4 separate regions of the Homo sapiens genome follow, and regions 1, 3 and 4 are each linked to region 2. The links are contacts of gene promoters, found by promoter capture Hi-C in blood cells and fetal thymus (Javierre and others, 2016). All regions are on one chromosome and are shown on one strand. Each heading gives the region's core, a stretch centred on a gene start or on the middle of the fragment in contact. The rest is flanking DNA. Distances are from core to core; before and after follow the strand shown. Region 1 overlaps SHROOM3 (shroom family member 3). Region 2 holds the start of SCARB2 (scavenger receptor class B member 2). Region 3 overlaps SEPTIN11 (septin 11). Region 4 overlaps SEPTIN11 (septin 11).

What was found. The method cuts DNA at HindIII sites, captures the fragments that hold promoters and counts their contacts. A CHiCAGO score of 5 or more calls a contact.
Region 1: a fragment that was not itself captured here is called in contact with the fragment with the promoter of SCARB2 in region 2 in 1 of 17 cell types (M2 macrophages); the score reaches 5.0 in M2 macrophages.
Region 3: a contact is called between a fragment that was not itself captured here and the fragment with the promoter of SCARB2 in region 2, in 1 of 17 cell types (M2 macrophages). The highest score is 5.6, in M2 macrophages.
Region 4: a fragment that was not itself captured here is called in contact with the fragment with the promoter of SCARB2 in region 2 in 2 of 17 cell types (M2 macrophages and M1 macrophages); the score reaches 5.4 in M2 macrophages.

What each region holds. Positions count from the first base shown.
Region 1 is chr4:76,741,988-76,744,898 of GRCh38, forward strand. The region is part of intron 5 of SHROOM3 (shroom family member 3); the gene reads left to right. SHROOM3-AS1 (SHROOM3 antisense RNA 1) reads right to left here. Exons shown (of 3, transcript NR_187405.1): 2 at 821-913. Among named protein-coding and RNA genes, the nearest start is that of SHROOM3-AS1, 59 kb to the right of the region's middle. The HindIII fragment of the contact is 2,652 bases long and covers 1-2,641 here.
Region 2 is chr4:76,212,422-76,215,672 of GRCh38, forward strand. SCARB2 (scavenger receptor class B member 2) reads right to left here and starts at 1,403. Exons shown (of 12, transcript NM_005506.4): 1 at 1,006-1,403. The coding sequence starts at 1,122. It also overlaps a transcript of FAM47E not described here. RefSeq lists silencers at 804-1,208, 1,122-1,741. The HindIII fragment of the contact is 5,631 bases long and covers 1-3,251 here.
Region 3 is chr4:76,954,055-76,957,317 of GRCh38, forward strand. All of the region lies in intron 1 of SEPTIN11 (septin 11), which reads left to right. Among named protein-coding and RNA genes, the nearest start is that of SEPTIN11, 5.9 kb to the left of the region's middle. The HindIII fragment of the contact is 1,799 bases long and covers 356-2,154 here.
Region 4 is chr4:76,975,598-76,978,855 of GRCh38, forward strand. The region is part of intron 1 of SEPTIN11 (septin 11); the gene reads left to right. Among named protein-coding and RNA genes, the nearest start is that of SEPTIN11, 27 kb to the left of the region's middle. The HindIII fragment of the contact is 1,976 bases long and covers 438-2,413 here.

The DNA.
Region 1 (2,911 bases), core at 66-2,565, 530 kb after region 2:
GGCTCCCCAACCCCCCACACTCTCACCCGCTCTCCCAGTTCAGTTTTCCTTGTGATTACAGAAAAGTAGCATTTGTTTTCATGAGTTGAGTTTCTCAAGTGTCCCTTACCTGGTTTCCTTATAAAGATATAGGTATCTAGATTACGTATGTTGTTATACAGATTCTCTATCTATCTGTCTACCTCCATTTTAGGAAGTCACCACCTCTCAATGGAAAAATGCAAGGTTAAGAAAAATTAGGGATTATCTTTTTTGTTTTTTGCTTTTTTTTTTTTAATGGATTAGAGTCTGGGTCTGAGTATTTTAAAAGTTTTAGCTTTGCACCCTTTCTGTTTCTATTGGACTTTGCATCTACAAAATAGCTAGAATGATTGACATTGATAGTCATTGGTTATTGAATTCCTGGCCCTCAGCTAAGTGTGTGGCAGGTCCTGAGCTAAGTGTAATCTACATTTATTATTTCATTTAACCCTCATGATAATCCTGTGCAGCAGAGTATATTATACATGTCAGACCCCTGTCTCTCGGACTCCCACCTCAGCTCTTTCTGTGCATTATCCTGGTGAGGAGAGAAAATAAGAAACTCAAAATCTCACATAAAAGGATTTTCTAATAAAGGCACCAAATGCTGCAAGGATTATAAAGTACTTTCCCCTGAAAATTTTAAGCAGTGCTGGGAATAGAAGCTGAGCATTCTGACTCCTAGGAGCCTGTTAATTTCCCTAATTCTTAGCCTATCCTCAGGCTTCACTTCCACTGTAGACCAGGGGCCTGCCTCATGCTTCCCTTCCCACCAAAGACAATAATAGGAATCACATACCTGTTAGCACAGGGGAGGAAGAACTCCGCTCCACTCTCCCCTCTCAGATTCTGCTGTTTTCCCTTTCAGAGAAGTCAGCCATTCAGCAAGCATCTGTAGAGCATGTGTTGTATGAAAAATGCTGTGTTACAGCATCAAAGGATACACAAAAGGAAAAAATAAGGCTCATGCCTTTCTGGAGTTCACAGTTAAGCAAGGAATACGACCTTATATGTATAAATCTAATATGACTAGTGAATGCTTTGGGAATAGTGATCAATAATATGCTATGGAAAGGAAAGTGATTAATTCTGAGGTGATCTGAAAGTGCTTCTCCTGAAGGGAAATGGGATTTTGGGCCAGGATGTAAAAGATGGGCATGATGACAAGAGATTAGGGGAGAGGGGATGCATTGATGGGAAGAAACCAGTTCAGACAAAGAAAGATTCAGCAGTTCTGGCTGAGAAGTTTGCTGCACTCTATCACACGCATACAGCAACAAATGCTACTTGCTCTTACCAGTCAGATGCTTATAGGGCAGGATTTTACAAGTTTTTGACAAGGATTTAGCTCTTTTTCAAAATTCTCATTAGGGAGGCCTTTCTGCCTCCAAAAACAAAGTCATCATGGAAATCAGTTCCTCTGTATGTGACGATTGATCCATCTCTGGCCTGAAATAATGACTGCAGGAGGCTACCATTTTGAACTACTTGTAGCCTGAGACCTTCTCATATATTTGGCAGGTCTGGCCTCTTCCTCAGCCAGCTTGAAATCCTCTCTGAAACATGCAACCTTCTATTTTCTTCTCCTTTAATTCCTCTTCATTGCAGAACAATAGATACTAGTGATGGAGCTTAAGTGCACATCAGACTCTTGCCTGTTTCCTTCTGAGAGAAAATACCGTCCCCTCCCAGATGTTTTCTGTTTAGAATTGTACAGAAATATTTTCTCCCAGTATAAATCCCCGACAAATATAGAGGCAACTTCCCATAAGCCTTCAGTAGCCTTTTCCTTCCTTCAGAATGAACAGAGCTAATTCCCACTCCCTATCCTACCACTAACACACATTTAAAATCCATATATGTAACACACAATTTCATTTAGCTTGATGGATTTTAGCAACTTAACTGCATAGCAGTCTAGACACCTTCCTTTCTCTCCCCGTGTTTCAAAGAAAATAAAAATGCTTAGGTGAAAACCAAATCATTATTGTTTATTCCCCATTAGATATTGTTATTTTGTCTTAGAGGTTGGTTGGATGGCTATGAATGTTATTTTATCTTTCCCCCCAAATATTTCTTAAGCCTGGTTGATTAAGAAATAAAGCTAAAACATAGGCGTTGGGAGAAGTGAAGAGATTCCTCCAAATCCCAATTAAATACTTTGTATTATTTGGAAAACTTTTTAGAAAGACAAGTGAATACAAAACAGTACTTGGGCACCCTTTTCATAAAGGGAATGCCATATTTAGATGTTATTTAATTTGGGGAATATGCAGGCAGAGAGGGAAATATTTCCAAATGAAATACTTCTTTTGTACTGCTTTGCTCCAACAAATACTGAAATTTCTGAACAATGCATAGTCTCTTATATTGTCACTGTGCCAGGACTGCATTCTTGAGCTTCCTCCCTCTCCTGGTCTCCTGCACAGCAGCCAGACCTTAGCTGACTGGAGAAGCATCTCATGGCAAGGCGGTCTGCTCCTTGCATCCTCTTCATCATCTGCCTTATTTGTAGTTATGATGAGTAAAAAATAAAACAAAGTTACTCTCACCACATAACTATTGTGGTTATTATATACATATTTTTCCTATTGAATAAATTTCAAGAACATTATCAGTAAGCTTTTGGGAAGGTTTGTTAATCAATCATTTTTCTCATCCTTGCTTTAGAGAATTCTGACAAGTTAAGTGAACTTGTAGAGACTGTCTGCCTGAGTTAAAACCACAATGTGGAGTGTGTTTCTGCTGCTGGCTTAGTTGATGCTATCTCCAACAAATGTTGCTTGCTCTTACCAGTCAGATGCTGACAGGGCAGGATTTTACAAGTTTTTGACAAGGATTTAGCTCTTTTTCAAAATTCTCATTAGTGAGGCCTTTCTGCCTCCAAAAA
Region 2 (3,251 bases), core at 153-2,652:
CATTGCCACCTGGAATAAAATAGCTTTACTGACTGGAGAGTGCAGTGATTCAAAGTAGACTAGGCCTGGGCTTTTTTATCTGGCCGCAGCAAGTGCAGACCAGTGGGAGAAATGAAGCGTGCAGTTATGGATGCTAACAAGAAAGGCTGCTGCTCCAGTGATTATTTTTCTTTTTTAAGGAAAAAATGATCCCAGTAATTCTCTTTTGTTCCTCTTTTGACACAGCTTGGTGGATGTGGGGGAAAGGGCAGATGAAATGACCAGTGAAATCAAAAGATGAAGTCTTCTTAAAGGACTGGCTCTCCAGCCCAATCATCTAGAGGAAGAGACAAGTTCAGATTCTTGTAGGGTATCTAAATGCATCTGTGCCTGAAAATTATGGCCGTTTGAGAAAAACAAGAATTCATGGTGAGACAAAGCAACACAGACTGTTGGTACAAGATACAAAGCCACTAAGTCAGCGTTCAGCAAAGACTGATGGATGAATTGTCACCCAGCCTAAAGGACTGGCCCAGCTACCAACTGCCCCTGCCCAGCCCAAGAGGGCAAGAACACAATAGACCGCACACCCACGTCTCATCCCCAGGCGCACACCACTTCAAAGGCTACAGCAAGCAGACAACATAACCTGCCTCTTCTGCGGTGTCTTTCATTCAGTTCTGTTTCTTCATGAAGTGGGAAGGAAACAAGTTTGGGCCCACCTGAGATTGGGGTGTAGACGGAAGGAGTGGGGAGAGATGCAAACGACAGAACACAACCGAAGGCCTTTTTAAAAGTCAGGATCCATAGCCTTACTTATCACTGTAAAGGGAACAGAGTCGGCTCCATCCTTCCTCATCCTTCTTTAACCCTCGCCTACCAAGCCCTGGAAGACAGGGACGCAAGAAGAGCTCTAGCGCGGAGGGTCTGCCTGAGTGCTGGTCTTTCCCATACAAGATGTAGCAGCAGGGATGGGAGGGTGAGCTGGACGACTCCACAACACACACACAGCCCGCCCCGCCTCACCTTCTCGATACTCTGGTCTACAGCCTTCTGGAAGACCCGGGCCACCAGCAGCGTGACGCTGGTCACCAGCAGGAGCAGGGACAACGTCCCCGCCGTGTAGAAGCAGCATCGGCCCATTCTGTGCGCCGCTCACGGGCCGGGCCGGGCCGCACCCGCCAGGGATCCAACTGCAAGGAGGGAGGAGCCGCCGCAGAGGCGTCGAAGACCCGGGACCCTTCGGCGCCACGCCCACGCCCTCCCGGCGCACGGTTCGTGCGCGCAGCTCTGGGCTCCGCGGCCTGGCGAGCGCGGCCCCGGGTGCACCGGGCGGATGGGGCCGCGGAGGGACGGGCCCGGACTCGGTTTCGGTTTCCTTCGCCGGGCAGCCGTGGCGCCCGCCTAGCGCAGCTCGGGAGAGTGCAGGGAGCGCGCAGGGACGTGACGTTCGCGGGCCGGGCTCGCCGCAACCCCGCGAGGCAACCGCCGGCGACTGCGCGGGGAGGCGGGCGGGGGCGGAGGCCGCAGTCATGTGCCCTGCGGCGGCGGCAGTGATTCGGCCCGCGCCCTCCCCGGCCGGTCCCCGGTGGCCCTGAGTGGCTGCGGCGCCTGAGCCAGGCCCGGCCTGGCCGCTCCCAGCGCCCTGCACCGCAGGCCCAGCGCTCGCCCCACCGAAATTGCCGAACCTGGTTCACACACTCATTTACTCATTCCGCAGATAGGTCTGAGGGCCTCCCATGGGCCACGCGCTGGGGATTCAAGGTGGCTGGGACATTCCCCTGCTCTAGAGGCGCTCGCAAGTTAGCGGGGACACCGTTACCGCAATTACAACACAATGTAGCAAGTGCTTCTACCAGGTGCCTGCTGAGATCATGCCAGCAAGCATGTTCTGCCTGGATGACCTAGGGCCCCACATTGAACTGGGGCCTGGGGGATGCATAAGTTTGTCACGTAAGGGGCATGTGCAAGAATGGAAGATGTGCAAAAAAGGGAGGAGGAGGCATTTCACGGAGAAGGAAACGGTGAGCAAAGGCATTGGGGGTGAAAGAGCAAAACCTGTAGGAAGCAAGAAGGAAGTTCCTTTTGACTGTAGGCTCAGGTGTTCAGGGGGTGGAGTCGGAGGTGTTGAGGCCCCAAGAGGTCAGACTTTGAAGGGCTCTTGGTATCCTGTTAAAGATGTGGAAGTTGGGAAGGAGCTTAAAGCAGGCATCGCTGGTGTTCTTGCCTGCTTTGCTCACTGTGGTGTCCCAGACACCCAGGACCAAGACCTGCACACAGCCAGGACTCAAGAAGTGTTCGTTAAATGAGTGTTTCTTCTACGCCAGCCCTTTACTAGTTTCTTTGCACAGTTCTACTCATTTAATACCCTTGGCAGTCCTATGAATAGGAGGTTGTGTTTGTCCCAGTCCTCCAGAAACAGTCCCAGATGGGGGTACTATGCAAGAGAGTTTTGAGGGAAAACAGGGAGCTGGACCTGGGATGCAGGTGTGATCCTTGTGAAGGAAAGAGGCAAGCAAGGAAGGAAGGTTGGGTGGAAGGAAGCATTTGATATATATACAGTCCATGTATAAAAAGTTCAGCAAGGCCATTGGGGTGGGGAATCCTTTAGCCAAATGGGCTTGTCCCAGAAGTCTGGCATCTCCCAGAAAGAGGCCCGCCTTAGTATCCCTGCTGTGCTCAGTCATGAGCTGGGAGCAGCCTTAGGAAGCTGGCCTTTGCAGCAACCTAGGGATAAATATCAGGGTATGGATTTCAGCAGAGCTCAGCAGTTGAGGCGGAGCCATTGGTCAGTTATGCTATCTACACTGCAAGATCCAAGAAGTACATTTTCTTGGCAACTATAGTGTATTATCCTCATTTTACACTCAAGAACACTGGGGCTCTGAGTTAAGTAACCTAACAAGCTCAACTGGTTGCTGAGTGGTGGATCCTGCTTGAACCAGGATGTAGGGCTGGCTGTTGGCTTCCAAAACCCTCACTTTTTCTACTCTGCGCATTGCTGCATCCCGATCTGTCACTAATGAGAATCTGAGGACAGCAAATCAGTTAGGAGGCTTTGTTGAGGACTTGGTGAGATAGCATGATGGTTTAAAAATGGTGGCAAATTATTTGTTACTCCTTTCGTTGAGAGGTGGGGTCTATACTTTCTCGCTTTGAATTTGGGCAGGTTTTAGCAATTTGTTAAACCAATAGAATACAGTGGAAATGACCATATCCTGGAACTTCTGAAGCTAGATCATAAATGCCTTGCAACTTCTGCTGGGGCCTTT
Region 3 (3,263 bases), core at 5-2,504, 740 kb after region 2:
AGTGTTTGGGCATGGGCCATCCTATGTCTGCAAAAGGAACAAATGATTGTGGGACTCTGCTGTTTCCTTGATTTGGATGGCCTACTTGATTGATTGCCAGCAGACCAAGTGTTTATATTCTACCCAATGATGATGTCACACTGATCATGATCATCGGATTTAGACTGTGGCGCAGCCCACAGAGTTTTCTGTGCCTGTGTTTCTCTTTATAGGACTCTAAATTTGGTTGGGGATAGACGCTGCTCTTGGATTTTATCATTTTATTGGGATCCATCTTTCATAGTCTTAGCTAGACCTGTCTCAAATGGGGTTAGCAAAGCTGAACCATTATTTAAATGAAACCCAACACATCTAAAGCTTCTATACTTTTTTCCAAGGAGATCTACTTTACAATATAATTGATAACCTCCCCCGCCCCCTTTTTAAAAATCTGGATTGACAGAAAACTCTCAAATAACAATACTTCCCCTGACCCACTCATGCCTGCTGGCAGCCCATCAATGCAGCAGCTGTTGAACATAAAAACAATACTTGGGCTAAGGTAATAGAGACAGACTTCTAAAAGGAATTTGCTGGGCGATCTAAAATGAAATTCACATTGTTCCAGGCTTGACCTGAGATAGAAATCAGGAGTCTGTTCCCTGATATGACAAAGCCAAGGCACCAGAGCCACCTCTTTTTAGGATCGACGCCAATGAGTGTGAGCACATCGCTCAAGCCAAATGGCACAGGAAGTCCAGTTCTGTGGACACATTCTGCCCACCTGCTGAACTGTGACTGGGTAGGATGGAGTGTGAAACATTGAGAGAGGGGTAGGCTGAGGTGGTGAGGTGGGAAAGAGACCATATTCTAAAAGGACCATTTTTCTGACAAGTGGGAGCTTTGTTTGTTCTTGTCTGTGTGTGATTTCTTTTTTATTTATTTATTTATTTTTTTTTGCATTTTTATTGTACAAAAAGGAAATGAAAATATATATAGCATAACATTAAAATTTACCTACTTGTTTTTGATAATAACATTCCTTTGGGAAGAATTGATTTTTTTTCTCTTATAGAAGTTGAGGCACAATAATGTGGATAGGTTAGAGATTGAAAAACAAAATAATCCTCAACACCCTAACACATCAGTACTCATTCTTGCCTTTCCAACCCACCTGTTTTATCAGACATTTCTTGTGTACCTTCTATATGCAGGTGCTGAAATTATGTTGGTGAGTACTTGACTGCAGTCTTTGCTGCTCTCATGAAATCTCTCTATAGGCTGAGTAAGCAATAGGATTTAGCAAGGAAAGGGAGATGGGGAGGTGGTTGTGGAAGTGTTCCAAGCCCAGGAAACAGCATGTGCCAAGCTCTGGAAGTGAGGGAGAGACTCTTAAGAAATCCAATGTAGCAGGAACGTCAGCCTTAGGGTTGGGTAGGGAGAGTGGACAGACAAGAGGCTGAGGAGGTGGGAAGAGACTCAGTTGTGCAGTGCATTCTTTATAGGCATGTATTTACTGTGTAGCTCTTTAAATGCTTTATATTCCATCCACCCTTTGCCCATAACTTAAGATATCTCAGATCCTTGAAATTGGTTGAAGGAAGACAAAGAAAATCTGCAGACTACTAATTCTTCAGGATTCAATAGGAGAGTTGAGAAACGATCAGGGGAGTTGATTCCTTTCATGCCCAAATTGAACCCTTAAAGAATAGAGGAAATGAAGACTGACAGAGGACACAGAGAAGGAGAGTCCAGTGACAACATATGACAACGACAATGCTAGATCTTCCTCTGCCCAGTTTTATGCATTGAGCCTTTCCTCAGGATTCAGAACTAGAAGTTATTATTTTCTTAGACCTAAGCAACTGAGTCCTGAAGAGTGTGGTGGGGCTGGGGGGGAAGATGGTAGGACTCTTTCCACCTTGGACTTCAAGTGGCAATCAGTGTTCTCCAAAAAGGAAATTAAAAACTCATTGGATTTTATGAAAACAGGAGAAGAGTCTGTTAAAAGCCAGGGTTTACTTAAGACTTCATGCTGTTTTAGTTATCTCATCTCTTTGAGTACTGTCTTCATACCAGTATAAATTTTGTGAATCTCATTAAGGTACTCATTAAACTTACTCTGACCTGCTGTTGGAGGGCAAAAGGCTTGACCAAAAACTTCTGTGCACGGGAAGCTTGTTCAGCATCTTGATTTTCAAATTTATTCAATTCAAATTACTGTCAAGACAATTATCTCACCTTATACTCACAAAATACCTGAGAAGTAATATAGAGAAGGAAAATGAGACAGGAAGAAGTTGTCAGTTAATCTGCTACAGCAAATTTGTGGGAGAGCTAGGCTTTGGAACCAAAGGCTTTTAGACCAACATGCATACAGACCTCCCATCTGATTCAGTCAGTTAAGCTAAATTATGTTGCGGTAACAAATTGGCCCCATGTTTTGGTGGCTTACATAGCAAGGGTTTATTTCTCATGCAGCTGTTCCACCCTCGGAGGTCTGCTGCATACTGCATTGCCTCCAGGACCCAGGCTGAGGGAGTATCCTCTATCTGGGCATTGCCAGCCTGGTGGCAGAGGACAAAGAGACATGCTGAACCCTGGCTTCTCAAGAGCTGGCTTCTCAAGCTCTTAGATGGGTCACTTCCATGCAGATTGTATTGGCCAAAGTAAATGGTCATTCCTAAATTCAAAAGAATGAGGATAGAGAATCCTCCTGTAAAGAGTGGCTCTGAAAGACCCTTGGGCTGGGGAAGTAAATCCCCCTCTAGGGAGGGCAGTGAATATTTTGAATAACAGTTGGCTAGATTCCTAGTCAAGGAATCTACTATGAAGCCAAGTCTTTATTTTTAAAATTGTATCCCTGTCTGTAAGGATTTTTCTCCCTCTATTTGGCCTGCTCTGATTCTAGCTGGGCATAGTAGAATGATGTGTGTGTGTGTGTGTGTGTGTGTGTGTGTGAGAGAGAGAGAGACAGAGACAGAGACAGAGAGAGATAAGAGTTAGGCAGCCACAATGAATTGAAGTCAGAGTGAATTCTCCTACTCACTGGTGATGAGCTTCCAGGGACATCACCATCAAGTAAGTCATGGGTGGTAACCTTCTGAAAGGCCTTCTGTGCTGCTCTCTGATGACCTCAGCTGTGGAAGTGTACTCTCTGGGAAATGGTTCTGAGGCCATTAGGACTTCCAGCTGCTTGACAGAATGATTTCCCTTGGGACCTCGGCCCTTTGGACCTTTCCCAGCCATATGTCCCTAAATGCAGATGAATCAGATGGCACCCT
Region 4 (3,258 bases), core at 176-2,675, 760 kb after region 2:
CAGCTGGGTCATCAGATCTGTATTTCATTCACTCTGATGCAGCGTATTCTTTTGGTTGAAGTACCTGAAGATCCAACCTCACATAGGTATGTGGTTGGAAAAGGAGGAACTTATATACCCCTAAAAGGTTCTTGGGGAGGACCCAAGGATTCTCTTACCAAATTTTGAGAACCACTTTCTTTAAAGTAACTCATCTACTCTCTGTATCTTTACCTTCAGTCTTCTCTAAGGAGGAGTTCTGAATTTCCTACAGATAACTTGGAGAAGGAAGTAAGCACTTTTGTTATTTTGAAGTTAGTGACTGTGTCCTGATAGTAGTGTATAAGGTAACACTATAAAGAAAAACAAGAAAAGAGTTTAAGGCAAATTCAGGATAGTGTTTACCTCCAGTACAGAGGGAGAGTGATGCCATCTCACAGGATACCATGGGGCTTCAAAGCTTTTGTTAATGTGTTGTTTTTTGGGCTGGGTGTTGGGTATGTGAGTGTTTGTTCTATTTTCTTTACATGGTAAGGACATGTTGTAAAAGATTATGAGGTATCTACTTATATACTTAAAGAAACCTCTGGTTTTTAGTACTTGAGGAAACAGTAAATACTGTATTTTGTATTCAACATTTTCTGCTTTTTTTTGGCTTGTATCTCTTGCATCTTTCTAGGACCAGTTTTTTAAAATACCCCTTTTGATACCTGGCTCACCCATCAGAATTATTTTTCACTTCCTATACTTGTGTTAACATAAGATCCAAGGCTTGTGATTCCCTAATTGCTGCATGAATACACAGAACTGGAGACTTGCAAGCTCAACTTTGGGACTAGAGTGATGAGATTTCTTGGTGTCTGAATGTTTGACTGTCAGACGACAATGGCTTTCAACCGTTCTAAGCCTTCTATGTCACATTGATCCTGGCCCTCAAAGACTCGTTGGTTGTTCTCCTTTCCACTAGATAATAGGCTGATTTTGTGGTATCTAAACAATCATAAAGTTGCACTTCTTGGAAAGGGTAACCCGCTATTTGACTTATGTTGGGAGCCATCCCACTCTGTAGTATCTTCTTGCTTGGCGTCAGCATTTTAGACTTTTGTTTTGATGACCCAATACCTCTAGTGAGGTTTTATTTGAAGTCTGATACCCACTCTGACATAGGCTCTGGCAGCCTTTAATCTTTTATCCCATTGCAAATGTTAGAATCCCGTAATTTAACAACTAGAGTTTATGTACCTTTCCTCAATGACCCTTCTCCACCCATCTATGTTACAGATGATGATACTGAAAACCAGAGAAGTGGTGGTCCCTGTCACTTATAGCCAACCTAGCTGAAATAGGATTGGAAGCCCTGATGGATGTTTAGCTATGGAATATAATGGTTAAAGTAGTTTTTATGTTTTTTTCCTTATTTGCCTTAAGGTAGATAAGCCCAGCTACACAATATAACATGGAATGAGGTAGAGAAAGAAGAGTATAGTGTTCTAAAGAAAGCATTTTTGGTGGGAGAGAAATTTAAACCATAGTAAAAAGCTCAAGAGAGAGAGAATATGGCAGTAAATAATATGTGACTTTGAATTTTTTAAAGTTTGATTTTAGAATGCTCTCCCCTTTGTTACACTTACAAAAATATTACTGCTTAAGTAGATGATATCTGAACATGGTTTCCAAGGGCCTGAGTAAACTATTTGTAATTACCTCATGGATTGTTAGGAAATCAACAAAACAGGTATTTTATGTTGCTGCCATGGTGGCTAGTGGTTGAACATTTGTTCCAAATTGCAAGTTGCAGAGAAGTGCATGTAAAGGAATGTGAGTGTAATTAAAATGCCTTCAGAAATGGGGGTCTAAGTAAATATTGTATTTATTAAGTGAAACAGCACAAGTGAAATTACCAACTAATGCCTAGCTCAGGGTAGGCTTTAGAATAATGAATATTAGTTTTCCTGAGAGTAAAAGTATTGCTAGTTTTTAAAGACTTATTTTTAAATATAAGCTCAGAAGTGGATAATGGAGTTTCATCAGTAAATCAATATTTTTTTTCATTAGTCTAATTTTAATACCAGGTAATGAGCATTTTTAGCCTTTCTAAAAAGGATGAAGGAGTGAGTCTGGGGATGTCCTCTTATCCCAAAAGGTTCGTCTTTTTTTTTTTTTTTTAGGATGATTAAGTTGATAAAATGGCTTACCAGTTCCTTGCACATACTAGGTAGAGATACAGAAAATATTTCTTCTCTAGCCCATACTACCGAAAGGTTATTTGTTTGTTTGTTTTTGGTAATACAAGCATATGTGTGTTTGCTCCTCAGTAGTCTATAAGAAGCTAAGGAGGAAGTGGTGGGAATATCTGATATGTTAGTCATGTGGTTTTAATCAGTCAGGACTGCTAACTGCATCCTTTCTTGTTTTTCTTTGCAACTTCTATGTAAGCTTTGGTTGATTTTTCTCTGCAACTAATTCTTACAGCTTTGCCAGAGAAAAGTAAGAAAGGAGACTTGATAATCCTTGCTCTTAGAAGAGTGTGAGAGAGAGTAAGAGTGATTGCTGTAGGCTGCCTAACCTTAATCTGTACTCTCTGGGTTAGACTTACTCTGCTTCTTTTCTGTGAGAAATATAAGAAATCCACTCCAGCAGCTGGTGGTGGAGGTCTCTTCTTGGATTCTTCCTTCTCTTGTTTCCTGCTGTTCCCACTTCCCGTAGCTCCCACGTTGCTTTCCTTGTGTGCTCTTACTTGGTGGAATAGGGCCTGTGCACCATGACAACCTACCTCTCCAGCGATTTCTCACCTTGGAAGTTGGTGACTTCTGTAGTGTGATGTGCTTGGGTGGGCCACGCATGTCCCTTGATGGCCAACACACACATCACTCTCTGGTTTATAAAAGGTTGACCAGAGGTAACTTTTCTAGACTCCCAGGCTCTACTAATGTAGTGGCCTGGGCTTTGGAGGAAGCCTGCTTGGCTTTGACTCCTGGCCCTACCACTTACTTGCTGCACAACCCTGAGCAGCTTAATCTCTTAGAGCTTCACTGACCTCCACCGTAAAATGGGAATAATAACGGTGCACACCTCAGAGGCGATTGTGAGAAGTAAATGAGACCTATGTAAAATACTCAGCATAATGCCTGCCATATATGTATAAAATAAGAGCTTTATACTTGTGAACTTTAGCAGAATAGTTTATTTCCTGAGAGCAAACACCCCTACAACGTTTGACCTCTTCACTACCGTGTCTCTCCCTCCCTGCAGTTGATTGTGACTAAGTGTTGGGAAGGG